Linked DNA regions of Homo sapiens: region 2 is linked to region 1. Evidence: promoter capture Hi-C in 16 types of primary human blood cells and fetal thymus (Javierre and others, 2016). All regions are on one chromosome and are shown on one strand. Each heading gives the region's core, a stretch centred on a gene start or on the middle of the fragment in contact. The rest is flanking DNA. Distances are from core to core; before and after follow the strand shown. Region 1 holds the start of ATP4A (ATPase H+/K+ transporting subunit alpha). Region 2 holds the start of MAG (myelin associated glycoprotein).

Evidence for each region. The method cuts DNA at HindIII sites, captures the fragments that hold promoters and counts their contacts. A CHiCAGO score of 5 or more calls a contact.
Region 2: a contact is called between a fragment that was not itself captured here and the fragment with the promoter of ATP4A in region 1, in 1 of 17 cell types (erythroblasts). The highest score is 5.5, in erythroblasts.

Annotation. Positions count from the first base shown.
Region 1 is chr19:35,561,188-35,566,173 of GRCh38, reverse strand. It overlaps ATP4A (ATPase H+/K+ transporting subunit alpha), which reads left to right and starts at 2,516. Exons shown (of 22, transcript NM_000704.3): 1 at 2,516-2,556; 2 at 2,647-2,790; 3 at 2,906-2,965; 4 at 3,536-3,739. The coding sequence starts at 2,545. RefSeq lists an enhancer at 860-1,361. The HindIII fragment of the contact is 9,853 bases long and covers 1-4,986 here.
Region 2 is chr19:35,288,960-35,293,945 of GRCh38, reverse strand. It overlaps MAG (myelin associated glycoprotein), which reads right to left and starts at 1,785. Exons shown (of 11, transcript NM_002361.4): 1 at 1,742-1,785. The HindIII fragment of the contact is 253 bases long and covers 2,262-2,514 here.

The DNA of each region.
Region 1 (4,986 bases), core at 1,267-3,766:
GAAAGACTCTGTCTCAAAAAGAAAAAAAAAAAAAATCTATCAATCATCTATCATTTATGTATCCATCTATCTGTCTAACATCTCTTATCTATCTATTTTTCTATTTTTTTTTTTTTTTTTTTTTGAGACAGAGTCTCACTCTGTCACCCAGGCTGGAGTGCAGTGGCATGATCTCGGCTCACTGCAACTTTCACCTCCCAGGTTCAAGTGATTCTCCTGCCTCGGCCTCCCTGGTAGCTGGGATTACAGGCACACACCACCACATCCAGCTAATTTTTGTATTTTTAGTAGAGACAGGGTTTCACCATGTTGACCAGGCTGGTCTCGAACTCCTGACCTCATGATCCGTCCACCTCAGCCTTCCAGAGTGCTGGGATTACAGATGTGAGTCACAGTGTCCGGCCCAGTCCTCCTTCTAATGAACACCAAACAAATAAAAAGAAAACACAGTGTCAGGTTGGAGTAGGAGGTGTAAATACAGTGGGGTAAAGGAACAGAACACAGTGTGCAGTATTACAGAATGGACTCTCTGAAGAGGTGACATTTGAGCTGAGACCTGAAAGAGGTGAGAAAGCCAGTGCAGACATCTAAGGAAGGGGGCCCAGGCAGAAGGAACTGTAAGTACCAAGGTCCTGAAGCAGGAACGACCTTGGTCTGTGCAAAGTGCAGCAGAGAGGTCAGTGCCCCTGGAAACCTAGCAGCAACAGAGGCAGGACAGGTGACCAGGGCCAGATGTTGCAGGAAGGAGTGCAGAGTTTATTCTGAGTGGGAAGGGAAGGCTTTGGAGGGTTGTAAGCAGGGGGTGACACAAGCTGTTTGACATACATGGCTCAGAGCTGATGGGAGCCCAGTGAGCGAGTAGATTCACTACAAGGACAGCATGTGGCCCCACGCCACCTCTTCTTTGGAGGTTTCTTCTAGCAGGCTGGGGATGACCAGCCGTGTGGGTGCGGGGAGGAGCTCTGGCTGCCCAACAGCTTTGAGTTTCCCAGGTGACCTGCCCCAGTAGAGAAGGACATTGCCAGGGCAGTTATCTTATCAGGCGCACGCTCACCTGCTCCTGGAGACACGCTCACCCCATAACATACCAAGGTCCCCACCATTCCACTGGCCCAGCCCCTCGCTGCTGCTGCCCATGGAGGTCCCTACCTGAGGGATGAGGAGGGAGTCCCCAGGCCTCCTGGCATCTGTCACCCAACACCAAGATCAAGCCAAGACCCTTGGACACATCCTTTCCCCATGTTGCACCTTGGTTTCCCCATCTAGGGTAGGGACGGGGAATGGTTGAGAGCTGTAAAGTCTGTAGCTGGATATGTGAGTCCCTGTGAGCCTCAGTTTCCCCCTCTGCACAACAGGAATGATAGTTCTGCCTGCACAGGGTTTTTTGCAAAGACCCGTGAGGTCACACGTGCAGAGCCTGGCATGTGTGTGGTGCTGCTGCAGTGAAGTTTGGGTTTTTCCATTGGTGGTGCCATAGAAGAGCTAGGCTCTGGGGTCAAGCCCTGGGGTCAAGCCCGGGCTGGAACCCTGTCCCTAATTCTTAGACGTTGAAATCTTCTGCAAAGTCCCTGATGGGGGCTAAGAAGAGAATATTGCTTTACAGGGCTGCTGTTAGATGCTAAGGAAACCATTTGAGTGACACACAGAGCACACCCAGCCCATAGTGAATAGTCAGAGTTCAGTAAACATTCAGCCACCATAGAGAGTGTTGTAAGCATGGCAGGGCATGGTGGCTCACGCCTGTAATCCCAGCACTTTGGGAGGCCAAGGCGGGTGGATCACCTGAGGTCAGGAGTTCGAGACCAGCCTGGCCAACCTGGTGAAACCCCGTCTCTACTAAAAGTACAAAAATTAGCTGGGTGTGGTGGCATGTGCCTGTAGTCCCAGCTACTCAAGAGGCTGAGGCAGGAGAATCACTTGAACCCGGGAGGCGGAGGTTGCAGCGAGCTGAGATTGCACCACTGCACTCCAACCTGGGTGTCAGAGTGACACTCCATCTCAAAAAAAAAAAGAAAAAAAAAAAGAGTGTGGGAGCACCCTCCTCTTCCAGTTGATCAGGCACGTGCTATTTAGACTGAAAGAGGACACTCTGCAGCCAGCTGATCTGGTTCTCACTCCATTATGTCCTAGCCTGTGATGGAGCCATAGGAGAATGACTCAACCCCTCCATGCCTCAGTTTCCCCATCTGTAAAGGGTCTTGTCCCCTCAAAGGGTTATTGGAAGGTTAAATAAGTTAGCACATGGAAGCCGTCAGCACAATGCCCAGCGCATAATGAGCACCTTATGTTTGCTCTTCTTGTTGCTGCAGCGGTTCCCAGGGGCTCCCTGATCTCAGGGCAGGTTGACATGGGGGGATCTGGGCAGGGGAGGGGGGGGCCAGCCCAGGAGGGAATGCCTGAGGTGCCCAGGCCTAGAGGTCACCCCAAGGAGCCTGTAATCAGCTGTGGTCGGGCGGTTCTGCTCCACCCCACCGCCCTCCCTGGGTATATCAGGACTGGTCCGGGCCCAGGCTCTGTTGGGTGGGAGCACAGGCACCGGGCACCATGGGGAAGGCCGTGAGTGGGGCCCAGGGGTCCGGGGTGCAGTGGGGACAGGGGTTGCAGTGGAATCTGAGTTCTCCCTCCCTCCATCCTGTCCATTCCCAGGAGAACTATGAGCTCTACTCGGTGGAGCTGGGTCCTGGCCCTGGCGGGGACATGGCTGCCAAGATGAGCAAGAAGAAGAAGGCGGGTGGCGGGGGTGGCAAGAGGAAGGAGAAGCTGGAGAACATGAAGAAGGAGATGGAGATTGTGAGCTCTGACTGGGGAGGGGCGGGAGCTGGAGGGTAGGCTGGGAACCAGGCAGTGGGCGGGGAGGGGGCCAGGAGAGCCCAGAGCAAGCACCCTGCCCCACCCCACCACACAGAACGACCACCAGCTGTCAGTGGCGGAGCTGGAACAGAAATACCAGACCAGTGCCACCAAGGTGAGCTGGAGACTGGGAGCGTACAGAAAGGGGAGGAGGAGAGAGGGAGGGAGAGGGAGATGGAAGGAGGGAGATGGAGAGAGGGAGAGAGAGGGAGAGATGAAGAGAGGAAGATATGGAGAAATAGAGAGAGGGAGGGAGGCAGAAAAGGAAAGAGGGAGGGAGGGAGAGAGGAAAGGATGGAGGGAGGGGAGGAGAGAGGGAGGGAGATGGAGAGAGGGAGAGAGAGGGAGAGGGAGAGAAGGGAGAAAGCATTAGAGAGAAAGGGTGACACACAGAGACGGAGAGAGGAGTAGCTGAAAAGAGACAGCAAGACAGAGAAGGCAGAGACAAATAAGGAGAGAGCAGCAGGAGAGAGACACATAGAAAGGGGAGCGAGGAGAGAGAGACAAAGGGAGAGATGAAGGAGGGAGGGAGAGATGGGGTGGGGGCAGGAACCAAGAGACAAAGAGATGAGAAGGAGCAGGACAGACCAAGCTGGAGAAGGGAAACTGAAGCAGGGGGCTTTCCACGGGGTGTGCATGTGGAGGAAAGCCCCCAGGACCGCCTCGCCCTGCCCCTCTGTCCCAGGGCCTCTCTGCGAGCCTGGCTGCTGAGCTGCTGCTGCGGGATGGGCCCAACGCACTGCGGCCACCACGGGGCACCCCAGAGTACGTCAAGTTCGCGAGGCAGCTGGCCGGGGGCCTGCAGTGCCTCATGTGGGTTGCCGCCGCCATCTGCCTCATCGCCTTTGCCATCCAGGCTAGTGAGGGGGACCTCACCACCGACGACAATGTGAGCCATGTTGTGGGGACAGGCTCAGGACATGGGGACCTGGGGATGGAAGACACTGAGCCTGGGACTTGGGACAAGAGGGGCAGAGAAGGATGGGGATAGACGAACACGAAAGGCAGTCTCAAGACAGGGGTCATGGAGGGTGAAGGACATTGGGATATGGATGGGGCAGACCCAAGGACACAGGACACAGGGACACTGGGGTGAATCTTGGGTATGGGGACATAGGTGGGGGCATAAAGAGTATGGCAATGTGATACGTAAGAGATGGGATTTGGAGGCCGGGCGTGTAATCCCATGCCTGTAATCCCAGCACTTTGGGAGGCCGAGGCGGGCAGATCACCTGAGGTCAGGAGTTCGAGACCAGCCTGGCCAACATGGCAAAACCCCATCTCTACTAAAATTACAAAAATTAGCCAGACATGGTGGCGGGCACCTGTAATCCCAGTTACTTGGGAGGCTGAGGCAGGAGAATCATTTGAACCCAGGAGGTGGATGTTGCAGTGAGCCAAGACCATGCCACTGCACTCCAGCCTGGGCGACAGAGCGAGACTGCATCTTAAAAAAAAAAAAAAAAAAAAAAAAAAGAGATGGGACTTGGAAGCAGAGGACATGCAGTGCAGACACAGGACAGACTGAGGCACGGGGAATAGGAGACCCTGGGACTCAGACATAGGACACCAGGGCAGGGACCCAAGCCTCAGGACACAGCACATAGAGAGACACAAAACATGAGACATAGAAGCACAGAGACAGAGAGGAAATGGAGGTGCAGGGCAAGGGACATTGGACATATGGCAGAGATGAGGGCAAGGGACATGGGGACTCAGGGACATGTGACATGGGACAGAGGCTCGAAAAGTCATGGCCATGGGACACAGGATGGGAACTCGGAGATACACAGACATGGGAGACACGGGACACAGTGACTGGGGAGCTAGAACATGGGGGCCGTGGCCACAGAGGACACAGACCATGACGTACAAGGTCTGCAGCACACGCAGGGACGGGGATGTGAGGATGCAGGGACAAGGGGGCCCAGGGGACACACAGAGGGTGGCAGCAGATTATGGAAAACCCAGGATGTGAAACTGGAGACACGGGGAATACAGGCCATGGGGACAGGAGGAGACATGGGACAGTGGACATGGGGAATGCAAGGCTTGGGGACACAGGAGAAGGGAACACGTCAGACCAAGGCACACAGTGATTTGGGGCACAAGTCACAGATATGGGGACATGGAAGA
Region 2 (4,986 bases), core at 1,139-3,638, 270 kb after region 1:
GGCCGGGGCCTGGGGGTGGCGGGCAGGGACCCAGAGCCATCAATGACTGGGTTTCACAGTATCAGCATTCCCGACATGCCGCGTGAATTCCTGCCGCCCTCTCCCACCCCACAGACGGCCCCTGGTGTCCGCACCCTCACCAGAAGCTGGTCCCCGGTACAAAAGAGTCCTGTTCCCTCGGGGAGAGGGTGTTTTAGCCTGCGGGGGGCTTTCAGGGTAAGTGGGGAGTAAGAAAGGGGTCAGGCACTCCTGGCTGGCCTTTGAGCAGGGCCAGGAAGGCCCAGGGTGGGGGCTAGCGAGCCCCTGGCACCCTGCTGCTCCATGGGTTGCCTTGGGGTTGCAGCCAGGGTTTCCAAGCAATTGCTTTTCCCAGCCTTCACCGCCCTCTTCCCACGGACAGAGACACATGCACAGACACATCCAATCGCGGGGATGAAATGTGACAGATGTAGCCCCAGCCAGAAGGGGCAGGCACACGCAGCGGAGACTCATACAGACACCCAGACAGGACCCTGAACACACAGACAGGCACAGGGACCCCTGTGCCCACAGGGATGGGCTGGCACTCACATAGTTCCCAAGGCGTGCATGCAATGCCTCTGCTGCTGTCCACACACACCTGGACAGACACAGCCCTGGCATTCAGCACACACACACACACACACACACAGCCCAGCATGCATGCCAGGCTAACAAAGATGCAAGGAACTGCACACACACACTGAGGATGGCTATAGACGCGTCCACTCAGACACGCGCCGATGGACACCTGGCCGACGCTGCCCTTGCACCTGTGACAGGAAGGTACAGGAGAGAGATGCAGATGAGGATGAGCACGTGCCCGGGCAGACATGAAACAAGCAGGTAGACCATGCACTCTTAACAGCGGGGAAAACAAGTTCTCGGGATGGGGGCCAAATCAACCTCAGCTATTACAGTGTGTGTGGCCACAGTCCATAAACATATGTACAGCAGATCTGTTGGATTAAAATGCCAAGGGAAGGATGGGATGAGGACAAATGCATCTAAAAAGTTTCTGTAGTTGGGGCCGGGCGCAGTGGCTCACGCCTGTAAACCCAGCACTTTGGAAGGCCAAGTTGGGAGAATCTCTTGTGCCCAGAAGTTTGAGACCAGCCTGGGCAATATAGTGAGAGTCCCGTCTCTTAAAAAAAAAAAAGTAACGAAAAATAAAAAGTGTCCTTAGTGGGGATTAATGAAGAAAAGTCGACTGAGGCTTACAGAGGAAGGTGCATGGGCAGCCATGTGTGTGCACGCACACGCACACACACACACACACACACCTGCTATGTGCCCAGGTGCTAGAATGCAGTCACTAACAGCCCACTGCCCCCATCCACCTCCCAGATTGCAGCCTGCAGGTGTCTGATCACCTGGACATCCTTCCATTCTTCGGCCAGATGCAGACCTCCTCCACCCCATCTGCCCCGCACTCGGGAACCCCAAGGAAACCTCTCCTGCAAAATCTTCACCCACAAGGGGTGCTGAGGGGGGGCCCTTTGTTTTTTCTCTCTGTGGTTTCTTCCCAGAGCCCCATCGCTGCCCCAGCGATGGTCCGAGCCCATCCCCAAAGCAGCCCCAAGCCACACACTCCTGCATCCTAAATCAGTAGCGGTGCACAGCGATGCTCCCTCACCCAGAGCACCTGACCCTGCTCACGTCTGGGTGCCACTGCCCCGGTGCCCTGCTCCCCTTGCCCTGGCCTCCCTGCCACCATACTCACTTGGACTCAGTTGCTTCTGCACCTCTGCTCCGCCAGCCCAGCTCGCAGTCCCCTGCCTTCCAGGGTCTAGGCCCCCACTTGCCAGCCCCTCCCCTCCCCCTGGGTGCCAGGGGCCGCCTGCCTCCAGGGCCCAGCTCCTCCCTACCCCCGGGGGAGGGGGGCACAAAGGGGCCCTTGTCACCACGGGGCTCGGACTGGGCAGCCTGACGCCTGGGTTCTCCTAGCTCTTTCCTGGAGGGGTCGGGAGTGGCTGCCTTGCTCTCTCCCCATCTTCCATCCCTGTACACCCTGATTCTGGGTCCCGGGGGTGGGGGGGCAGTCTAATCTCTTTGGAAGTCCCAGGCTGAGGGACAGAGGCATTGTCCTCAGGGAATCTTGGTGGCAACATTAGGTGGGCAGCAGGAGGAGACAGGTCCTTTCCACCCTCAACGTCAGTGTCACCTCCTCTTGCCATCTGAAATGACCTTCCGTGTTCACCAACTCCTTTCATGAGAACGTGACCTCCACCAGGCCAGAAGCTTCGTCTTGGATATTCTCAATCCATCCTTGCTCGTAGACAAGCTCCTGGCAGGCAGTTGAGCTTAATAAACAGTGTGGGTGGTTGAATGTGTTCCCCAGAGCCCCAGGGCACCTTCAGACTCAAGGCCTGTGCACCTGCTGCTCATTCTTCCTGGAAAGCAGTCCCCACCCCATAGCACTCCCCACTCTGGCACTGGCTGCCGTTCACCCATCCTGTAGGCTCAGCAGCCTGGGTGCCGCTTCCCTGGGAAGCTTTCCCATCTTCGCCCATCAGCCAGGCCCCTCCATTGCAATGCTGTCCTTTCCTTCTGTAGCCTTGGCAGGCTGGCCCGTGTGCACCCTAGGTCTGCCCGCCTCTGCCTCCCACTAACCCAGGAGCTCTCAGAGGCAGGGGCTCACCAGAAACCTATCTGCCTCTCTGTCTGTCATGTGCACCCTTCTGTCCCCGGGGCAGTGCTTGGTGCACATAGGACTGTGCTGACCAAGTTGGGCAAGGACCCTCTGAGTGCAGATTCCACCCCTTGGTCATGACTTTTGCAAGGTGGGTGGGGGCTCGGGGCAGCTGGAGGTGGCGTGACAAAGTGCAGCAGTGATTTCACCATGAGCTGTTCAGCCTCACTGGGACATCTCCTGTCCTCCTTCAGGCCAGAGCAGTGGGGAGGGGGGGTCCTCGCTCTCAAGGGAGAACCCAGGGGGTGAGGGGCGGGGAAATCCCTCAGACCAGGGAGAGAAGCGTTGTGGGGCTGGGGGGGAGTTGGAGGGGGAGGGGGAGTCCCACCCCCACCCCAGGCTTCATGATGTCAGACTCTGCCCGTGCCTTTCCCAGTCCGGGACAAAGGACCATTGAGAGTCGGGCGGGGCTTGAATGCCTGGGTCCTGGAGAAGAGAGGGGCCTGGTGCCTGGGCTTTGGTGGTGGTGGTCGGGGTGACAAGGAGATCCTGGGGGGTATTTGCATGTCACAGCCTTCAGCATCAACACCCACCTAGTTGGAGCTGGAGTCGTGTGCTGGTGCAGTGTGGGGCTCCATCTCCTCCCTGGGTGTGAACTGAAGGCTGTTGCTGGGGAGAGGACAGTGTCCCACAGGAGCACTCGCAATAGTCGCTGACATCAGCAACTCGGGTCTCCAGGAGACCTGTGGGAGCGAGGCGGCTGGAGCCCATGAGAGGAAGGGGCTGGGTGACAGGACCTGTGACTGGCGGGCAGGTGCCCTGTCTAAGGGGACAACTGACCCGCAGATCCAGTGGCCGGTGCTGCCGTATCAGCTGATCTTTTACGAGAGAGCAGGTGTATCAGTTTTCCAGGGCTGTTACAACAAAGTTTCACAAACTGGGTGGCTTAAAAACCGGAATTGAGGCCATGCACGGTGGCTCACACCTGTACTCCCAGTGCTTTGGGAGGCCAAGGCGGGCAGATCACGAGGTCAGGAGATCGAGACCATCATGGCTAACACGGTGAAACCCTGTCTCTACTAAAAATACAAAAAATTAGCCGGGCATGGTGGCAGGCGCCTGTAGTCCCAGCTACTCAGGAGGCTGAGGCAGGAGAATGGCGTGAACCCGGGAGGCGGGGCTGGCAGTGAGCGGAGATTGCGCCACTGCACTCCAGGCTGGGCAACAGAGCAAGACTCCGACTCAAACAAACAAACAAACAAACAAACAAAAAACCCTGCCAGAATTGAGCTTGAATTCCAAGATCAACAAGATCAAGTGCTGGCAGTGTTGGTTCCTTCTGAGGGGTGTGAGGATCTGTTCCGGGCCTTTCTCTGTATGGCATCTTCATCTTCACATTCCCTTCCCCCTGTATTCACCCCTGCCCAGATTTGCCGTTTATTTATTTATTTATTTATTTATTTATTTATTTATTTATGTTTGAGACATAGTATTGCTTTGTCATTTAGGCTGGAATGCAGTGGTGCAATCATACCTTACTGCCACCTCCACCCTCCAGATTCAAGCGACTCTCTTGCTTCAGCCTCTCAATAGTAACTGGGACTACTGGCACTTTTTTTTTTTTTTTTTTTTTTGCTAGAGACAGGGTCTCACTATATTGCCCAGGCTGGTCTTGAATTCCTGATCTCAAGCAGTCCTCCTGTGTTGGCCTCCCAAACTGCTGGGATTACAGGTGTGAGTCACTGTACCCTGTCAGATTTAGGAAACCAGTTATATTGGATTAGGATTCTCCCGTCTCATTTTAACTTGATTACCTCTGTGAAGACCCTGCCTCCAACTAAGGTCACATTCTGAGCTACTAGGCGTTAGGACTTCAATGTGAGTTTTGAATTCCTAGCAGCAGGAATTCAGAATGAAGCTCTCGGCCATGGGGAGCTCTCACTTAAAGCTTAAAGCTCTCATAGATGGGAGCTGAGGCTCAATCCATCCAAGAGCCTTTGCTGCCCTCAGACAATGGTGTCAGCTTCACAACCAGTCCTCCACAGGACTGCAGCTTGCTCAAAATGCAAGGTCAAGGGCCCCGCCTTGCACCTGTGGAATCAGAAATTCTGGAGGCCCAGCTATCTGCAGTTTATTTGTTTATTTGTTTTACAGACATCGTCTCACTGTGTCACCCAGGCTGCAGTGCAGTGGTGCCATCATAGGTCACTGCAGCCTTGAATTCCTGGCCTCAAGTAATCCTCCCGTCTCAGCCTCGTAAACCACTGGGATTATAGGCATGCTCCACCACGCCCAGCCTCATCTGCATTTTATTTTTATTTATTTAATTTTTTTTG